Regions from separate parts of the Homo sapiens genome. Here regions 2 and 3 are each linked to region 1. Evidence: promoter capture Hi-C in human tissues and cell types (Jung and others, 2019). All regions are on one chromosome and are shown on one strand. The core of a region is centred on a gene start or on the middle of the fragment in contact, and the rest is flanking DNA. Distances in the headings are between cores, read along the strand shown. Region 1 holds the start of IGFBP4 (insulin like growth factor binding protein 4). Region 2 overlaps WIPF2 (WAS/WASL interacting protein family member 2). Region 3 overlaps WIPF2 (WAS/WASL interacting protein family member 2).

Region 1 (2,965 bases), core at 334-2,833:
TCACCGTGTTGGCCAGACTGGTCTCAAACTCCTGACCTCAGGTGATCTGCCCACCTTGGCCTCCCAAAGTGCTAGGATTACAGGCATGAGCCACTACGCCTGGCCTTCTTTTTTCTCTTTCTTTCTTTTTTTTTTTGAGATGGAGTCTCGCTCTGTCGCCCAGGTTGGAGTGCAGTGGCGCAATCTCAGCTCACTGCAAGCTCCACCTCCCGGGATCATGCCATTCTCCTGCCTCAGCCTCCCTAGTAGCTGGGACTACAGGCACCCGCCACCACGCCCGGCTAACTTTTTGTATTTTTAGTAGAGAGGGGGTTTCACCGTGCTAGCCAGGATGGTCTCGATTTCCTGACCTCGTGATCTGCCCGCCTCGGCCTCCCAAAGTGCTGGGATTACAGGCGTGAGCCACCGCGCCCGGCCTTCTTTCTTTCTTTCTTTTTTAGACAGAGTTTCCTTCTTTCACCTAGGCTGGTGTGCAGTGGTACAATTCTAGCTCACTGCAGCCTCCAACTCCTGGGCTCAAGTGATCCTCTTGCCTCAGGCTCCCGAGTACCTGGGACCACAGGTGAACGCCACCACACCTGGCTAATTTTAAAATTTTTTTGTAGAGACAAGGTCTCACTACGTTGCCCAGACTGGTCTTGAACTCCTGGGCTCAAGTGATCCTCCCGCCTCAGCCTCCAAAAGTGCTGACATTACAGGTGTGAGTCACTGCTGCAGGCCCCTCAAATCCTTCACTGCCATCTGGGAAATGATCACAACAGCTCTACAAATACACAATGATTACAAGGAATGGTGCCCCACTGGAGTTGTTCAACGCAAAACTTGCACATTGCAAGTGGCAATCTCCCAGGCCTGCCTCCCTCCACGAGTGGGTCTGAATGGGCCTGAGAGGCAAACATCCAAGAAGGAGGAAGAGGCTCGGCGGCACCTCCCTCCCCGGGAGTTCTGCTGATTCCATCTTGGGGAAGCAGGGTGGACCAGGGCCCAAATGCGCCCTGGGGAGATTGCGGGGGCGGGAGAGGTTGCAAGGGGCAAGTGGCAAGAGCCTGTTAACGTCTTAGGGCCTCCAGGCCTTTCTGTGCCCCTAGCTGTGCCTGTACGCTTTACCCCACCTCAGGAGGCTTGGTCTCCAGCGGTTGAGGCTGGAAGCACCGGGGTGCGGTGGAAAGGGCTCTGTCCAGGAAGACCGGATCCGCAGAGCCGGGAGTCCGGGCTAGGAAGTCCCTTTCTCGGTGGGAGACTGAGGCCGCCTTGGCGGGGCGGGACGAGACTCCTCCGAGGTCGGGAAAGGGGGCCCCGCAGCAGCCCCTTGGCTTCCCTTCTCCCTTGCCTCCCCTCCGGGGCTCCGGTTCAGAGGCACTCTGGGCGCCTGCTACAGCTTCCAAACTGCGCCGCTTCCTTCTTCGGCAGAAAAGGACTTTCAGATGCGGCGGCGGCGGCGGCGGCGACTCAGGACAGCGCCCCCTCCCCCTAACGGCCGCCTCTCCCTCTCCCCCTCGCCCGCCCCGGCTCCCCCACCTCTGGGAAGGCGCTGGGGGTGTGGCCAGGGACCGGTATAAAGTCCGGGGGAGCCGGTCCCGGGCAGCCGCTCAGCCCCCTGCCCCTCGCCGCCCGCCGCCTGCCTGGGCCGGGCCGAGGATGCGGCGCAGCGCCTCGGCGGCCAGGCTTGCTCCCCTCCGGCACGCCTGCTAACTTCCCCCGCTACGTCCCCGTTCGCCCGCCGGGCCGCCCCGTCTCCCCGCGCCCTCCGGGTCGGGTCCTCCAGGAGCGCCAGGCGCTGCCGCCGTGTGCCCTCCGCCGCTCGCCCGCGCGCCCGCGCTCCCCGCCTGCGCCCAGCGCCCCGCGCCCGCGCCCAGTCCTCGGGCGGTCATGCTGCCCCTCTGCCTCGTGGCCGCCCTGCTGCTGGCCGCCGGGCCCGGGCCGAGCCTGGGCGACGAAGCCATCCACTGCCCGCCCTGCTCCGAGGAGAAGCTGGCGCGCTGCCGCCCCCCCGTGGGCTGCGAGGAGCTGGTGCGAGAGCCGGGCTGCGGCTGTTGCGCCACTTGCGCCCTGGGCTTGGGGATGCCCTGCGGGGTGTACACCCCCCGTTGCGGCTCGGGCCTGCGCTGCTACCCGCCCCGAGGGGTGGAGAAGCCCCTGCACACACTGATGCACGGGCAAGGCGTGTGCATGGAGCTGGCGGAGATCGAGGCCATCCAGGAAAGCCTGCAGCCCTCTGGTAAGGTACCCCTGGCCTCCCAATTCCCTCCTGAGTGCGCTCCCTTCCCAGCGGCTTCTTCCCCATTCCAGCCGCCCTGGAAGGCCCTTAAAAATCCCCTATGAGTTGAAGAGAAGGCAGGTACGTGGCAGGGCCCGACTGGCATGGGACAGGCTCATCAAGGAAACTGCTACCGAGTCCCTAGCAGCCTGTTGCCACCACCAAGGGAGACTGTCCCATCGCTCCATCTCAAACCTCCAAGGGTTGTCTGTTTGATAAGGGGGTCCCAGTGGGAGGCCTGGCTGCTGGTGCAGGAGTGGCAGATTAAGGTCCAGTTAAGTCAGCTGTCTAGGGCCAGAGAACTGGAGGATGGTGGTGGGGTGTGTGTTGGGGAGGATGAGGGAGTGGGGAAAGCTTTCTGTTCCTGATCCAGGCCGAGGGTGAAATCCCAGTGGTCTGGGGAGCCAGGGCCTGAACTTTTTTTTTACATGGTCCAGTGGTGGAGTGGGACATACAAATTAGAGGGACTTTGGCGTTGAGGGGCATTAGACTTGCCCTTCCCCAAAGCCCAGAGCCAGGTCACCTTGTTGTTTGAGAGGCAGTGGGAAGACAGGGGTCCCTCTGCCAGGCCTGGACACCTCTGCCTGCCCTGGTATACAGGCCCCCTGTTCTTTTCTCCAGGCAGGTAGGATTTGAGGTGGTAGAAAAGTCTTGGCTCCTAGCCGAGAGCTGCAGGAGCCTCATGTGTGTGGGATAGGGAATAGAGAA
Region 2 (3,009 bases), core at 446-2,945, 180 kb before region 1:
CGTCCTCAGGATGATACAGACAGCAGCCGGGCCTCACTCCCAGAACTGCCCCGGATGCAGAGACCCTCTTTACCGGACCTCTCTCGGCCTAATACCACCAGCAGTACGGGCATGAAGCACAGCTCCTCTGCCCCTCCCCCACCACCCCCAGGGCGGCGTGCCAACGCACCCCCCACACCTCTGCCTATGCACAGCAGCAAAGCCCCCGCCTACAACAGAGAGAAACCCTTGCCACCGACGCCTGGACAAAGGCTTCACCCTGGTCGAGAGGGACCTCCTGCTCCACCCCCAGTCAAACCACCTCCTTCCCCTGTGAATATCAGAACAGGACCAAGTGGCCAGTCTCTGGCTCCTCCTCCTCCGCCTTACCGCCAGCCTCCTGGGGTCCCCAATGGACCCTCTAGCCCCACTAATGAGTCAGCCCCTGAGCTGCCACAGAGACACAATTCTTTGCATAGGAAGACACCAGGGCCTGTCAGAGGCCTAGCACCTCCTCCACCCACCTCGGCCTCCCCATCTTTACTGAGTAATAGGCCACCTCCCCCAGCCCGAGACCCTCCCAGTCGGGGAGCAGGTAAGTGCTTGGAAGCACCTTTTTCCCTATCATGCTGTGAGTTGATTTTATCTTTCCCCAGAGCACTCCTTGAAGACAGTAATTCGTTTATTCACTCAGTGGGTTTATTGAGTACCTTTTTATGTGTCAGGTCTGTTGGTAGGGAAATAGCAATAAATAGAAAAGACAAAAAAATTTGACAGTCAAACTAGTAAAATATATAAATACATAGTATGCAGTATGCTTTAGAGAATTACAAAGCAGAGGAGAGGAATAAGATATACTGGGGCGGAGGTCGGGATGATGATATCTTTAATTGGAGGAGTGGGGAGAGAGTCAGGACAGTCCTTACTGATACGGTGAAAATTTGACAAAGACCTTAAGAAAGTGACGAGTAAGCTTAGTAGTTATCTAGGAGAACAGCTGTTGCAGGCAGTGGGAACAACAAATGCAGAGGCCATAAGGCAGAAGTATTCTTGAAACATTTTGGGGACAGCAAGGGGGCCATTGTGGCAAGACTACAAAGAGTGAGGGGAGGGAAGAGTGGTAGGACTTGGAGGTTGGAAAGCTGGAGCTGCAGGGGAGAGCGCACTGCAGGATTTTGCAAAGACCTTGGATTTAACTGTGTGAGATGGGAAGCCACTGGAGGGTTTTAAACAGAGAAGTAGTATGATTTGATTCACCTTTTAAAAAGATCATTAACTCCTATGTTGAGAACAGACCGCAGGAGGACAAAGGTGACAAAAGGAGACCAGTTACTGGGCTGTTGCAGTAAACGGCCAGATGGTTAGGACTACTGTGAATTTGTGGGAAGATAGGTGTTCAGTTTGAGACAAGTTTGAGATGCCTGTTAGGTAATCAAGAAGAGACAATGAATTGGTAATTGGCTATCAGACTCCAAAGTTGAGGGGAGAGGTTTCGGCTAGAGAGATACATTTGAATGGTGTTGAAAACCACATGCTGGATGAAGTCACCTAAGGAGTGAATATAGATAAGAAGAGGCCTAGGAGGCTGAGGCAGGAGAATCGCTTGAACTCAGGAGGCAGAGGTTGCAGTGAGCCGAGATCACGCCACTGCACTCCAGCCTGGGCGACAGAGTGACAGTCCATCTCAAAAAAAAAAAAAAAAAAAATGAGGGCTGAGCCCTCGCCCTCCTACATTAGAGGCAAAAGAGATGAAGAATACCCAGCAGAGGAAACAGAAAAGCTTCTAGTGAGGATGGAAGGAGAAAAACCAAGAATGTGATGGAAAAACTCCAAGGTAGAGTAAGTGGTCAGCTGTGCCCAGTGCTGCAGATGGGTCAGGTAAGTTAAAGACCAAGAACTGGCATTGGTCTTAGTATCATGGGACCCTTTTGAGTAGTTTCAGTGGAGTGGTGGAGGGTGAAAGTGAAAGCTTAATTGGAGTGGGTTCAAGAATGCAGGAATAGGAGGAGAGAAATTGGAGATAGCAATATAGAAATCTCTTAAAGAGTTCGCTGTAAAGTCCAGGAGAGAGGGGTGAAGATAAGTGAAGTGATTGTTGGACGAAGATGTGGGGTTGAGAGTTGTTTTTTTCCCATCCCAAGATGGGAGACCTATTTGTATGCTGATGGAATGAGTAGCATGAAACTTAGGAGAGAGGGAAAAAATTGAATCAGAAGAGAGGGAACAGATTGCCTGAATAATGACCTGGAGGAGGCCAGAGAAAAGAGAATGTGATCGATAGATAAAAAGGGTTGGCCTTAGATAGGAACATAGTTCTTCCATAGTAACAAGAGGGGAGGCAGAGCATATAGGCTTAGAAGCAAGTGGGTAGGTGGGTGTAGTGGTAGAAGCATGTGGAAAGTTTATTCTAATTTGCTTCTGTTTTCTCAGTGAAATGGAAAGCAAGAGCATCAGCTGTGATTGAGGCGAGGGAAGGAGAAGGAGAGTTGAGGAGAGAGAAGAGGCATGAAATGGTCATCTGGAGCGTGGGAGTGTGGGTGGACTAGGGAAGTGTGCTCAGATAGGCAACCACGCGAAGGGCCCACTTGAGATTATGGGCCATACATTTCATGTGAGATTAATTAGTCTCATGTGTTCAGTTGTGATTTGCAGGTACAGAAAAAGAGTAGAGCTGTGTTTAACCAGCGTTAGCATGTTTTAGGCATGTGCGACTCTAAGGGAGAGTGGGGCAGGAAGGGAAGGGTGTATGTGAGGGAGTGATTGCAATAATGGAGCCTAAGCTGGGTGAGGAGGGAATTTAGGAACCCTGGAAAAAGAAGAGGTTGTGTAATCTCGTTATAATTAGCATAACTGAAATTTTAGAGTGAGGGAGACCGTGACAGCTCTCTGGGGCCTTATTGGACATGGGAATTTTGGCTCCCATATCGTTGTATCATTAGACTTTGAGACATACCCTCCACAAACAGCTTCTTGGCCTTTATTTATTTATTTGTTTGTTTGTGTTTTGAGACAGAGCCTTGCTCTTTCGCC
Region 3 (3,200 bases), core at 364-2,863, 200 kb before region 1:
GCTGAGGAGGCCATGTTGGCTCTGACATAGAGTTGATTTGCATTCTAAGATGAGCAGCTCTATAGAAATAGCTGTAATACAATTTTACAACTTCCATTGAAACAGTTTTTTGGAAGGCTATGGCAGGAGGATTGTTTGAGGTCAGGAGTTTGAGACTGGCCTGAGCAACATAGTGAGATCCTGTCTTTGCAATCAAAATAAAACGATTAGCTGGATGTGGTAGTCCCAGCTACTCGGGAGGCTGAGGTGAGAAGATTGCTTGAGCCTGGGAGGTTAAGGCTGCAGTGAGCTGTGATTGTGCCACTTGCACTGCAATCTGGGTTGTAGGGTGAGACCCTTTCTCAAGGAAGAAAGAAAGAAAAACCAAGAAATTTTTTGTTGTTGTTGTTGTTGTTGGTTTGTTTTTTGAGACAGTCTCACTCTGTTACCCAGTGGCACAATCTCAGCTCGCTGCAACCTCCGCCTGCCGAGTTCAAGTGATTCTCCTGCCTCAGCCTCCCGAGTAGCTGGGATTACAGGCGCCCGCCGCCACGCCTGGCTAATTTTTTTGTATTTTTAGTACAGACGGGGTTTCACCATGTTGGCCAGGCCGGTCTCAAACTCCTGACCTTAGGTAATCCACCTGCCTCGGCCTTCCAGAGTGCTGGGATTACAGGCATGAGCCACTGTGCCTGGCCAAGAAACAGTTTTGATGAACAAAGTCACAAAAACAAAGCTACATCGAAAGTGTTATTGTCTCATTGATTATTGGTCACTGGCTGTGTTATAAGGCATGACTTTGAACTATTACTGATTTACTGCAGTTGACTATTTTCTGTACACGTCCGCCTATCTCCCAGTGCTGTACTTCAGTGCTTTCAGGATAATGAGATTTTTTCTTTGCCTTGAGGGGTTGGGCGTGAGGTCATTCCCTGACTTCTGTTTTGGATGATTTTCAGATATTTAATTTACATGGCTTTTGCATTAGTTATTCCTAGTCTGTCTTTTTAAATGAAGCTTTCTTTGCAGCTCTGGTTATTTAATTGAACACAGGAGTAGACTTCTCATTGATTTGTCATCATTTTAGATGAGAGGACTCAGCTCCTGGGCTGCCTTGTATCTGGGAATAACCCATAGTATCTAATATTTACCACATAAGGTAGTATATGAAGGTAGTCTTCCGAATTTACATTTTTAGGGCTTTAAAAAAATAATCTGGGGCTGGTCTGATGGTAGTGGGTTATCAGAGCTTATTAACATTAGTGTCACTGCAGTTGGTATACAAACCCCCCACTGCTAAATTTGACTGGCTTTAAAAAAAATCTGGGGGAAGAGGAAAGAGTCACATTAGTGGGGAAAGCTGCGTTTTGGGGATGCATTATGTTTTTGTTAAAAAAATATGTTTGAAAGAATTTCATCATTCAGTAGTTATATCTTCTTCCTCCTTCATTTTCTCTTTCAGAGAGGAGTAAAACATCCAGGTTTCATTTGTTGTAGAAGTCCTAGGATTTTTCAGGTTTTTTTTTTTAAGACAGAGTCTTGCTCTGTCGCCCAGGCTGGAGTGCAATGGTGCCATCTCGGCTCACTGCAACCTCTGCCTACCGGGTTCAAGCAATTCTCCTGCCTCAGCCTCCTGAGTAGCTGGGATTACAGGCATACGCCACCACACCCGGCTAATTTTGTATTTTTTTTTTTTAAGTAGAGATGGGGTTTCTCTGTATTGGCCAGGCTGGTCTAAAACTCCTGACCTCGGGTGATCCACCCACCTCCACCTCCCAAAGTGCTGGGATTACAGGAGTGAGCCACCACGCCCGGCCCGATTTTTCAGTTTTAATATTCATGATGGTTATGTGATTTTTTTTATTACTTGTTGGATCAGTCAGATTTGCTGCATAGTTGAATTTCTGTGATGAAAATTTCTGTAGTTGAAAAATTTTTTTCCCTTAAGTAACCTTGGAATTTTAATTAATTCCATCTCTACATGTGATAGAAATCTGTTTCACCAGAGGTTTGACTGAATTGAATTTCAAGAAGTGGTGGCACTTTCTCCATTGAGAGGAGAGGGCTGTGAGCTATAGAAAAAGCCTTTTTTTGGAGTGGTAGTGGTAAAATGTGTGTAACATGAATGTTATTCTAGTCTGTTTCCTTGTACTTTAGAGAAACCAGAAACACTTTAGTGGAAACCCTCTGTTATAGTCTGTCCTAGAACACATGGAGGCAAGTTTTTCATTCCTCTTGACATTATTCCCTGTGTGATTATAGGAACCTGTTTGGTTCCTGCCGTTGTTGGCTCCTGGAGTGGCATGTGACTACTCTTAGGCAGCTCCTGGCTCTTTTCTCATTTTGGGGTTCTTTGGCCTAGGGACTGGATGCCATTATGCCATTGTAGTAATGAGCTCCTACCTCCCATGCTGGATTGCTTTTCAGGAGCAAAGCTGAAGGACAGCTGAACAGGTGGGCAGATTACCAACAGGTGACTTTTAACCCTGGAAGGCCTTCAGTTAGTACTTAGTCTCTGGATGAGATTAAGCCAGGAGATCAAGTATAGTCTGTGGGATTAATGAGATAACCGATCGAACTTCTGGTTTGAGTGTGAAGCTGTCGGTTCATTTAGGTTTCTTTGGTTTTACAGTGTTGGTGTATTGGACAGAGAAGGGGACTACTTTTGGATTTGGAGGATGGCCTATATATAAAGCCTCAGATTTCATCTCTTCTCACTCTGTTCTAGCTATCCTGGTCTTTTTACTAGTTCTCTAACACACCAACTACATTCCCATGTTAGAATTTTTTCACTTGCTGTTATTTCTTTTCGGAATGCTCTTTCCCCAGATGTTTACATGGCATGCTCTGCTCATGGAGAGACTTCTTGGGAGAGCCAGATACTCTCCCCCAATGGCCCTTTCCCTGTGACTGTATTATTTTATCATTATTATTACTATTTTGTTGTTGTCGTGGTTAAATTCTCCTAGATCCTGAAGCCTGCAACCCTATCCAAAGGAAGACTCTAACCTGGGCAGCTGTAGTCCCAGCTACTGGGGAGGCTGAGGCTGGAGGATTGCTTAAGCCCAGACGTTCAAGACCAGCTTAGGCAACATAGTCTGGACAATCTATCTCTAAAAAATAAATAAGTAAAACAAAAGAACATTCCAGTCTATTCCTATACTCTACCTTTATGATTCTCTGTTTTTTTTACTCCTTTTATCAGTAACTGTTATACTGAG

Evidence for each region. The method cuts DNA at HindIII sites, captures the fragments that hold promoters and counts their contacts. A contact is called where the count stands out against the background at its distance.
Region 2: a fragment that was not itself captured here is called in contact with the fragment with the promoter of IGFBP4 in region 1 in 2 of the 25 tissues and cell types used here (neural progenitor cells and spleen).
Region 3: a fragment that was not itself captured here is called in contact with the fragment with the promoter of IGFBP4 in region 1 in 1 of the 25 tissues and cell types used here (spleen).

The regions. Positions count from the first base shown.
Region 1 is chr17:40,441,867-40,444,831 of GRCh38, forward strand. It overlaps IGFBP4 (insulin like growth factor binding protein 4), which reads left to right and starts at 1,584. Exons shown (of 4, transcript NM_001552.3): 1 at 1,584-2,218. The coding sequence starts at 1,870. RefSeq lists silencers at 1,481-1,670, 1,681-1,730, 1,741-1,790. The HindIII fragment of the contact is 6,489 bases long and covers 1-2,965 here.
Region 2 is chr17:40,264,573-40,267,581 of GRCh38, forward strand. WIPF2 (WAS/WASL interacting protein family member 2) reads left to right here. Exons shown (of 8, transcript NM_133264.5): 5 at 1-574. Among named protein-coding and RNA genes, the nearest start is that of CDC6, 22 kb to the right of the region's middle. The HindIII fragment of the contact is 4,401 bases long and covers 1-3,009 here.
Region 3 is chr17:40,242,025-40,245,224 of GRCh38, forward strand. All of the region lies in intron 1 of WIPF2 (WAS/WASL interacting protein family member 2), which reads left to right. It also overlaps the pseudogene RNY4P8. Among named protein-coding and RNA genes, the nearest start is that of WIPF2, 24 kb to the left of the region's middle. The HindIII fragment of the contact is 7,181 bases long and covers 1-3,200 here.